Linked DNA regions of Homo sapiens: region 1 is linked to region 2. The links are contacts of gene promoters, found by promoter capture Hi-C in human tissues and cell types (Jung and others, 2019). All regions are on one chromosome and are shown on one strand. The core of a region is centred on a gene start or on the middle of the fragment in contact, and the rest is flanking DNA. Distances in the headings are between cores, read along the strand shown. Region 1 has its middle 12 kb from the start of GATA6-AS1. Region 2 holds the start of CTAGE1 (cutaneous T cell lymphoma-associated antigen 1).

Region 1 (5,181 bases), core at 385-2,884, 260 kb after region 2:
GCACTTTCGGAGGCCAAGGCAGGTGGATCACCTGAGGTCAGGAGTTCGAGACCTCTGTGGCCAACATGGTGAAACCCCGTCTGTACTAAAAATTCAAAAATTAGCCGGAGGAGGCTAATTCTTATCTCTCAGGAGGCTGAGACATAAGAATCACTTGAACCCGGGAGGTGGAGGTTGCAGTGAGCTGAGATTGCGCCACTGCACTCCAGCCTGGGCAACAGAGCAAGACCCTTCTCAAAAAAAATATATATATATGATTTTCATGAAGATTAAATGAATTAATATTTATAAAATGCTTAGAAGAGTGTTTGGCTCACCATACAGGGTTTTTGAGATGTTTGATAAATAAGCAAAAACACAAACTTCTATTTCAGGCCACTTTTTAAGGGGAAGAGAGGAGGTACCAAGGCCTCAAAGAAGTGAGGTAGGAGGGTGATCAAAACTAAAAAGAAAAGACGAGAAAAAGCTTTCAAGAATATCAGACATTTCCTATAGGGAATTATTTGCAATCATCAACTCACCCTGTCTGTCCCTAGGTGATAGTGCAAGTAAGTTTGTGTTTGTTTTATTTGGTCAAACTCCTTGATCCTGCTGAGACAAACACTATGGTGGGTACTAGGGAAGCAAAGATGCTTGACAATGCCCTGCCCTCAAGCTGCTCCCAGATAAGCAGGAGAGACAGACAAGATTACAGAAAATCGTCACACCAGGTGGCAAGTGCCACTGTAGAGAGAAATCAGGGGACTGTTGGAGTGCAACCAGAGAAGGCTTCCTGGAGCAGTCGTAAAACTCACCTGACTGAGTTTTGAGAAATGACTTAATCAGACAAGGTTTAGGAAGTGAGAAGCAGCAAAGATAATTAACTGGAGCCTTAGTGTGAAGTGCCAGCAAGAAAGCAGAGAGGTTGGCAGGATTCTAATGCAGCCAAAGATCTTTTAACTATAAAATTATACTAAAAATGTAGATGCAAAAATATGCCTTTTAGAACAAAAGATAAGGAGTGTCAATGAGAAAGAAATGATCAAACCTCCAAGTGTATTCACTGGAAAATTGACCTCAAGGATGAAAACCTCTTCAGACAGAGAGATCACTGTTGCATGCTATGAGGGCCAAGTCATGACTGAATCTGCTAAAGTAAATTGTAATTAGATTTGGGGCATTAAAGTGGAACCCAAAATAATAAAATTAGGCTGGAACACTAGAATGTCAGCTCAAAACGGCCGGGCACGGTGGCTCACGCCTGTAATCCCAGCACTCTGGGAGGCCGAGGCAGGCTGATCATGAGGTCAGGAGATCGAGACCATCCTGGCTAGCATGGTGAAACCCCATCTCTACTAAAAATACAAAAAATTAGTCAGGCGTGGTGACAGGCACCTGTGGTCCCAGCTGCTCGGGAGGCTGAGGCAGGAGAATGGCGTGAACCCGGGAGGCGGAGGTTGCAGTGAGCCGAGATCGTGCCACTGCACTCCAGCCTGGGCGACAGAGCGAGACTCCGTCTCTAAAAAAAATAAAAATAAAAAAGAATGTAAGCTCAAGAAAACTGGAATTTTTGTCTGTTCTGTTCATCACAGTTTCCCCAGAGCCCAGAACAGAGCCTGGCCCATAGCAGGCATGTCATACGTATTTGTTGAATGAATGGTACATGAAAATATATAGCACACTCCCCATAACCTTGCCACTCACTTCTCTGATGTTGAGACATGATATCACCAGCCTCGTTGATATGCCATCAAATAGTAATTCCCACTCACCAGCATCACAACCTATTGCCACATCCCAGGGCATTGTTGATTGCTTTCACTTACAATAATACCCTCACTGTCTTTGGGCCTGTGGCACACTCTCCCCAGGCCCTGGCAACCTTTTACTTAGACTGCTGTAGGTCTCTTGGGAAGCAGGTGCTTGAGGGCTGTCCCCTCACATTGGAACTGTAAATGAATTCTCTAACTGGCATCAGACTTTCTACTCACTATTTAATAGTCTTCATTCTCTACTTTCAAAATCCTGGCACCTGCACCTCACTTGACCCTCCTTCCTGTCCCACCTATGGCTTCTCTTCTCCCTCAAGCCTTCTCTCACGCACTGCTCTAGGGCTGAATAGAAATTCAAGCTCCCAGCTGGGCACAATGGCTCACGCCTGTAATCCCAGCACTTTGGGAGGCCGAGGCAGGTGGATCCCCTGAGGTCAGGAGTTCAAGACCAGCCTGGCAAACATGGCGAAACCCTCTCTTTCTAAAAATGTAAAAATTAGCAGGGCGTGGTGGCACACGCCTGTAATCCCAGCTACTCAGGAGGCTGAGGCAGGAGAATCGCTTGAACCCAGGGGTGGAGGTTGCAGTGAGCCGAGATCGCACCACTTCACTCCAGCCTGGGTGAAAGAGCAAAACTCCATCTCAAAAAAAAAAAAAAAGAAAAAGAAAGAAATTCAGCCTTCCTCCTTTCCTATTCCACCAGTCCCTGAGATTCTACCTCCTCCACGAGATCTCGCCTGACAATTTAGAAGAGGAACAGTGGGTTTTGTTCGTACATAATCACCTCATGTCCCTGGCACCAATACTCATGAATAGTCCAGAACCAATTTAACTTCGACATACAAGAGGTCTCCCAGCTTTAAGTGCTAGTTATGTTTCTGAAGAGTTGTGGGCATGTAGCATTTTTGAAATCCAAATTATTCAAGGCCACCCTGAGTGAAGAAAAAAAAATCAAATCACTTTCTGGTTGATTTACACTACAGCTTTTAATTCTTCATTTCAAACTAGTTATAAATTAGCAGTAACTTCCAATGTTTATAGTTTGCTTCTCTGTTCTCTATTGACTCTCCTTTAAGACTATAATTTTTTTTTTTTTTTTTTTGAGATGGGGTCTTGCTCTGTCACCCAGGCTGGAGTGCAATGGTGGGATCTCGGCTCAATGAAACCCCTGCCTCCCGGGTTCAAACGATTCTCATGCCTCAGTCTCCAGAGTAGCTGGGATTACAAGCATGCACCTCCCTGCCTGGCTAATTTTTTTTTGTATTTTTAGTAGAAACGAGGTTTCACCATGTTGCCCAAGTTGGTCTTGAATTCCTGACCTCAGGTGATCCGTCCGCCTTGGCCTCCCAAACTGCTGGGATTACAGGTGTGAGCCACTGTGCCAGGGCAAGCCTATAATGATTTTTAAATAAATAAGTTCATAGTTAATGCACTGGGAAGTATAGTTTTTACTTTCAGCTCTTTAAATTAATCACCTATATATTTTTATATATTTGTAGCAGAGGCTGCTCTCTGCCCTCTAATATTTGCTCTCCTTTTTATTTTATTTTTTGGGATGGAGTCTCGCTCTGTCACAGACCTGAGTACTGTGGCATGATGTCAGCTCAGTGCAACCTCTGCCTCCTGGGTTGAAGCGATTCTTCTGCCTCAGCCTCCTGAGTAGCTGGGATTCAAGGTGCCCACCACCACGCCCAGCTAATTTTTGTATTTTTAGTAGAGACAGGGTTTCACCATGTTGACCATGGCTGGTCTCGATCTCCTGACCTTGTGATTCACCCGCCTCGGCCTCTCAAAGTGCTGGGATTACAGGCATAAGCCACCATGCCCGGCCCCTCCTTTTTATACAGGAAAAGATGTTTTAGCTCTATCAGTTGTTGCCCAGCTAAAAACTACATTTCTCAGATTTTTTTGCAATTAAGGGGGGCTAAGAGACCAGGTTCTAGACAGTGGGATGTGAGATAGAATTGTAACTTCTGGGCCAGGTGCGGTGGCTCACGACTGCAATCCCAGCACTTTGGGAGGCCGAGGCCAGTGGATCACTTGAAGCCAGGAGTTCGATATCAGCCTGGCCAACATGAAGAAACCTGTCTCTACTAAAAATACAAAAATTAGCTGCGCATGGTGGCATGCACCTGTAATCCCAGCTACTCCAGAGGCTGAGGCACGAGAATCACTTGAAACTGGGAAGCGGAGATTGCAGTGAGCTGAAATCATACCACTGCACTCTAGCCTGGGTGACGGAGTGAGACTCTTGCCTCCAAAAAAATAAATAAATAAATAAATAACTTCTGGGTCATTCTCTTAAAAGCAAAGAAACATGCTTTTCCTCTAACCTTTGCTCAAACTACTGGCTAGAATTTAGACGTGATGGCAGGCACTGGATCAGCCACAATGAGACAGAAGCCACATATTGCACAAAGTTGCAGTAGAGGGTGTCAGTCTGTGACATCATAGAGCTTTAGAAAAAGATCACTTAGTCTCAGACTGTTCCATGAAAGATAAATAACTTTAACTTGTTTAAGTCACTGTAATTTTGGTATTTATCTTTGCAGCCAAAACATATACTTATAAATATGTACACTTATAAGGGTATATCTAATATATATGTGTGTGGGCTATGAGAATACTGAAACAAAACCCAGTGCGGGTATTATCCAGCTTAAGAAATAAAACATTATCAATATCGGCTAGGCATGGTGGCTCACGCCTACAATCCTAGCACTTTGAGAGGCCACGGCAGGCAGATGGCTTGAGCTCGGGAGTTCAAGACCAGCCTGGGCAACATAGCAAGACCCCTTCTCTATTTCAGAAACTTTTAAAATAATAATAATAATTTTAAAAAGACATTATCAATATCTCCGAAGCCCTTGTGTTAACCTCTTTGGTCATTTCCCCCTTGCTATCTCCACAGCCAGCAGCAATCAATACTATGAAGGTTTTTGCAAATAGGTAGCTCAGATTTCTGATAGGCAGCACCTGGCACCGGGCCCTGTGCACATCAGCATTTAGCAAGGGTTAGTTCTGATGGAGATGGTAATATTACTGTGGTCTCTTGAGGTTTCAGGCTGCCCTTCAGTCCAGGGCTCAGAACCTCCCAGGCTCCCCAGGAGATACTCTTGCTGCTCCTGCACAGAATCCCTGGTGCCTTGCATTCCATTGCTGGGTGCCTCCTCCTGGATCTCTGCTGGCCAGAGTTTCCTTCACCCACACAGTGGATGGTATGTCTGCCTTCACCAATGGCACTCCCCGCTGGCTCCCTGGGCAAAGCAAAAAATGAGAAACTGTATCATCCATTGTTGACAGTCTCTTCCTTGGAGTAACTGCATAGGAGAGTTTAAAATATCTATATATCCACAGATCCACAAAATTATCTACATATATCTATAGTCAGCTATTAGCTTACCAAGTTGTTAAGACGTAGAACATGATC
Region 2 (5,049 bases), core at 1,235-3,734:
GAGTGGAAGTTTAAGTTACCCTCTTGCACTTTGCTGGTAGAGATGGAGTGGGCCACAGTTTTTTTCTGTGGTGTCTGCTGGGAAAGATCAGTTCATGCCTAAGAGTTTTCTGTCTTGCTAGCCTGCCCCTCTTATGGGCTTTTGACCAGAGAGACAGGCTTTCCCTGCTCTGTGTCTATGGCATTTACTGGTTGCCCACTTCTTTAGCATCTCGTCTTTGGGACAAAAATAAAACCCACGGAACTCACCACCATATTGTTTCTTGGGTTTTGAGATCTCTAGCTGGTCTACCTTCTTCTCTCCACTGTTCAGTCTTCTCATGTTGTTTTATATCTACTGTCCAGGGTTTTTAGCTGTACTTAGCAGGAGAAATGGGGGGAAATACTTCTACTTCATCTTTCCAGAAGTAGAATGCATACCCTATTGTTCTAATTTGCTTTTTTTTAATTAGTGAAGTTGAGTATCATTTTATCTGTTCACTGGACATTTTATTTCCCTCCTCTAGAATTGCCTGTCTCTTCGTACATACTTTTGTCTACTGTTTCTACTCAATTAACTATATTTTTATTAATGATTTGTAGTTCTTTTGTTTTTTCTTTTGAGACAAAGTCTTGCTCTGTTGCCCAGGCTGGAGTGCAGTGGTGCAATCTCAGCTGACTGCAACCTCCACCTCCCAGGTTCAAGAGATTCTCCTACCTCAACCTCTTGGGTAGCTGGGATTACAAGCGTCCACCACCACACCTGGCTCATTTTTGTAATTTTAGTAGAGTCGGGGATTCACCATGTTGGTCAGGCTGGCCTTGAACTCCTGACTTCAAGTGATCCTCTTGCCTTGGCCTCCCAAGGTGCTGGGATTATAGACATGAGCCACCGCACCCAGCCTAGTTCTTTATATATTCTGAATATTATTCCTTTGTCAATTTATATGTTGCATATATTTTCCAAATCTGTTACTTATTTTGCTTATAACGGTTTTGTCACCCAGAGGCCTTTAAATTCTAATGCAGTCAGCTTGTTGTCTTTTAATAATGAAAATATAAGAACTATACAAATATGCGGGCGGAAGATGGCAAAGGGAGCTGGTGCTTGTGCAAGTTGTTGAGGTGTGCTCTGTGGAATGATGGCTGTCACAGACACTGTCAAGCAGGAGGTTGCCCTGGCTGTGCACATGCTGCAAAGCATGCATGTGAACGTGATTCTGATCACGGGGGACAACTGGAAGACAGTCAGAGCCTTTGCCACCCAGGTTGGCATCAACAAAGTCTTTGCAGAGGTGTTGCCTTCACACAAGGTGACCAAGGTTCAGGAGCTCCTGAATGAAGGGAAGAAAGTCGCCATGGTGGGGGACGGGGTCAATGATTCCCTGGCCTTGGCCCAGGCAGACTTGGGCATTGCCACTGGCACTGGCACGGATGTGGTCATCGAGGCAGCCAACGTCATCCTCATCAAAAATGATTTGCTGGATGTGGTGGCTAGCATTCATATTTCCAAGATGACTGTCCAGAGGATATGCATCAAACTGGTCCTGGCGCTGATTTATAACCTAGTGGGCATACCCATTGCTGCAGGAGCAAGCTTTCCAGATGAGTTGAAGATATGTGCATGGGCGGGAGATGATGACTTATTGCAGGGCAAGGCGTCATCCGTGTTGAAGGAGTGCCAGTGTTTCAGAAATGGACACAGAGCAGGTAAGTTTGATGGACAGGTAAGAGAATCACTCTCTATGTGCCAGCACTGTTCTAAGAGTCCTGGATCTTCTGGGGATGAGATTAGCGTTTTTCAGTTGTACATGGGACAGCTGAGGCTCATGCTAGGGAGTGGTGAGCCCTTTCCTGGAAGAAGTTAATCTAAAAAGCATAATCTGTCTCATTTGGGAGGAGCTAAATAAATATCTCTTCAATGAAGCAAAGGTCAATCAGAAAATTTGTATTTTAGCTATAAAATTACCTATCAGAATTTACCATAGGGCATAATCTTAGTCAAGCACCCAAATTCATTATTTCAGCCACAGATACTGAAACACCAAAGGGATAAGGGGGCAGGTATTTCAGTTAGCTACTGCTGCATAACAAATGACCCCAAAGCTTAGTGACTTAAAACAATGATTTGTTATTCCTTATCATTCTGTCAGCTGGGAGGTTCTTCTGCCCGCCCCACCTGGGGTCATGCACAAGGCTACATTTAGCTAGGGTGTCAGCTTGGGATGGGCATAGCTGGGATGCTGGGTCACCTGAGTCTTTCTCACCATGTGGTACTGTTTTAAAATATAGGTTTTAGCGCTTCCTCAGGATGTAAAGTGTAACAAAGGTACCGGGGTGGGCAGTGTGGGTCTGTGAGGCCTACGGGTGCCCGCGTCCCCTAACTCCCCCCGCAGCCGGCTCCGCAGTGGTACGCTCCGGTTGCCCGTTAGGGATTCAGGTTCCAAACGGAATGCTGCGTCTTCTCCAGCGTTTGTTGTGGCCGAGGTTACTGCAGCAACCGCCAGAGCAGCCTTGGCGCTACGGAGGAGCCTAGGGCTAACCCTCAGCCATACCTGGGGCTGGTCCTGGAGTTGCTACGCAGGGTTGTGGCAGCACTGACTGAAGGTATGAGACCCGATTCTCATCCTTATGGTTTTCCATGGGAATTGGTGATACGTGCAGCTGTTGCTGGATTTTTTGCTGTTCTCTTCTTGTGGAGAAGTTTTAGATCAGTTACGAGTCGGCTTTATGTGAGAAGAGAGAAAAAGTTTGCTGTGGCACTTTCTGGACTAATTGAAGAAAAATGTAAACTACTTGAAAAATTTAGCCTTGTTCAAAAAGAGTATGAAGGCTATGAAGTAGAGTCATCTTTAAAGAATGCCAGCTTTGAGAAGGAGGCAACAGAAGCACAAAGTTTGGAGGCAACCTGCGAAAAGCTGAACAGGTTCAATTCTGAACTTGTGCATGAAATACTCTGTCTAGAAAAAGAGTTAAAAGAAGAGAAATCTAAACATTCTGAACAAAATGAATTGATGGCGGATATTTCCAAAAGGATACAGTCGCTAGAAGATGAGTCAAAATCCCTCAAATCACAAGTAGCTGAAGCCAAAATGACCTTCAAGAGATTTCAAGCGAATGAAGAACGGTTGGAGATAGAAATACAAGATGCTTGGAAAGAAAATTCTGAACTTCAGGAAAGCCAGAAACAGCTTTTGCAAGAAGCTGAAGTATGGAAAGAACAAGTGAGTGAACTTATTAAACAGAAAAGAACATTTGAAGACTCCAAAGTACATGCAGAACAAGTTCTAAATGATAAAGAAAATCACATCAAGACTCTGACTGAACGCTTGCTAAAGATGAAAGATGGGGTTGCTATGCTTGAAGAAGATGTAACGGATGATGATAACTTGGAATTAGAAATGAACAGTGAATCGGAAGATGGTGCTTACTTAGATAATCCTCCAAAAGGAGCTTTGAAGAAACTGATTCATGCTGCTAAGTTAAATGCTTCCTTAAAAACCTTAGAAGGAGAAAGAAACCAAATTTATATTCAATTATCTGAAGTTGATAAAACAAAGGAAGAGCTTACAGAGCATATTAAAAATCTTCAGACTGAACAAGCATCTTTGCAGTCAGAAAACACACATTTTGAAAGTGAGAATCAGAAGCTTCAGCAGAAACTTAAAGTAATGACTGAATTATATCAAGAAAATGAAATGAAACTCTACAGGAAATTAATAGTAGAGGAAAAATGCCGGTTAGAGAAAGAAGAGAAACTTTCTAAAGTAGACGAAATGATCAGCCATGCCACTGAAGAGCTGGAGACCTACCGAAAGCGAGCCAAAGATCTTAAAGAATTTGAGAAAACTATTCATTTTTATCAAAAGAAGATTATTCTCCATGAGAAAAAAGCACATGATAATTGGTCGGCAGCTTGGACTGCTGAAAGAAACCTCAATGATTTAAGGAAAGAAAATGCTCACAACAGACAAAAATTAACTGAAATAGAGTTTAAAATAAAACTTTTAGAAAAAGATCCTTATGGACTTGATGTTCCAAATACAGCATTTGGCAGACAGCATTCCCCATATGGTCCCTCACCATTGGGTTGGCCTTCATCTGAAACGAGAGCTTCTCTCTATCCTCCAACTTTGTTGGAAGGTCCTCTCAGACTCTCACCTTTGCTTCCACGGGGAGGAGGAAGAGGCTCCAGAGGCCCAGGGAATCCTCCGGACCATCAGATTACCAAAGAAAGAGGAGAATCAAGCTGTGATAGGTTAACTGATCCTCACAGGGCTCCTTCTGACGCTGGGCCCCTGGCACCTCCGTGGGAACAGGACTATAGGATGATGTTTCCTCCACCAGGACAATCATATCCTGATTCAGCTCTCCCTCCACAAAGGCAAGACAGATTTTATTCTAATTGTGCTAGACTCTCTGGACCAGCAGAACTCAGAAGTTTTAATATGCCTTCTTTGGATAAAATGGATGGGTCAATGCCTTCAGAAATGGAATCCAGTAGAAATGATACCAAAGATAATCTTGGTAATTTAAAGGTGCCTGATTCATCTCTCCCCGCTGAAAATGAAGCAACTGGCCCTGGCTTTGTTCCTCCACCTCTTGCTCCAATCAGAGGTTTATTGTTTCCAGTAGATACAAGGGGCCCGTTCATAAGAAGAGGACCTCCTTTCCCCCCACCTCCTCCAGGAACCGTGTTTGGAGCTTCTCCAGATTATTTTTCTCCAAGGGATGTCCCAGGTCCACCACGTGCTCCATTTGCAATGAGAAATGTCTATTTACCGAGAGGTTTTCTTCCTTACCGTCCCCCAAGACCTGCATTTTTCCCCCCAGCCCCCACATTCTGAAGGTAGAATGAGTTTCCATCAGGGTTGAGTCCGACTTCAAATGAGCCTGCTGCTGAACATCCAGAACGACAGCAAGAAACCTAACAACATGTTTGCCCTCTTCAAAAGTAATTTTGACTGATCTCATTTTCAGTTTAAGTAACTGCTGTTACTTAAGTGATTACACTTTTGTTCAGATTGAAACTTAATGGAACTATAATTCCCAGGATAGTATTTTGTAAATG

Evidence for each region. Contacts are between HindIII fragments. The study calls those that stand out against the background at their distance.
Region 1: a contact is called between a fragment that was not itself captured here and the fragment with the promoter of CTAGE1 in region 2, in 2 of the 25 tissues and cell types used here (H1 embryonic stem cells and thymus).

What each region holds. Positions count from the first base shown.
Region 1 is chr18:22,154,763-22,159,943 of GRCh38, reverse strand. No RefSeq gene overlaps it. Among named protein-coding and RNA genes, the nearest start is that of GATA6-AS1, 12 kb to the left of the region's middle. The HindIII fragment of the contact is 8,115 bases long and covers 1-5,181 here.
Region 2 is chr18:22,415,350-22,420,398 of GRCh38, reverse strand. It overlaps CTAGE1 (cutaneous T cell lymphoma-associated antigen 1), which reads left to right and starts at 2,484. Exons shown (of 1, transcript NM_172241.3): 1 at 2,484-5,049. The coding sequence starts at 2,588. The coding sequence ends at 4,825. It also overlaps the pseudogene ATP7BP1. The HindIII fragment of the contact is 3,989 bases long and covers 1,831-5,049 here.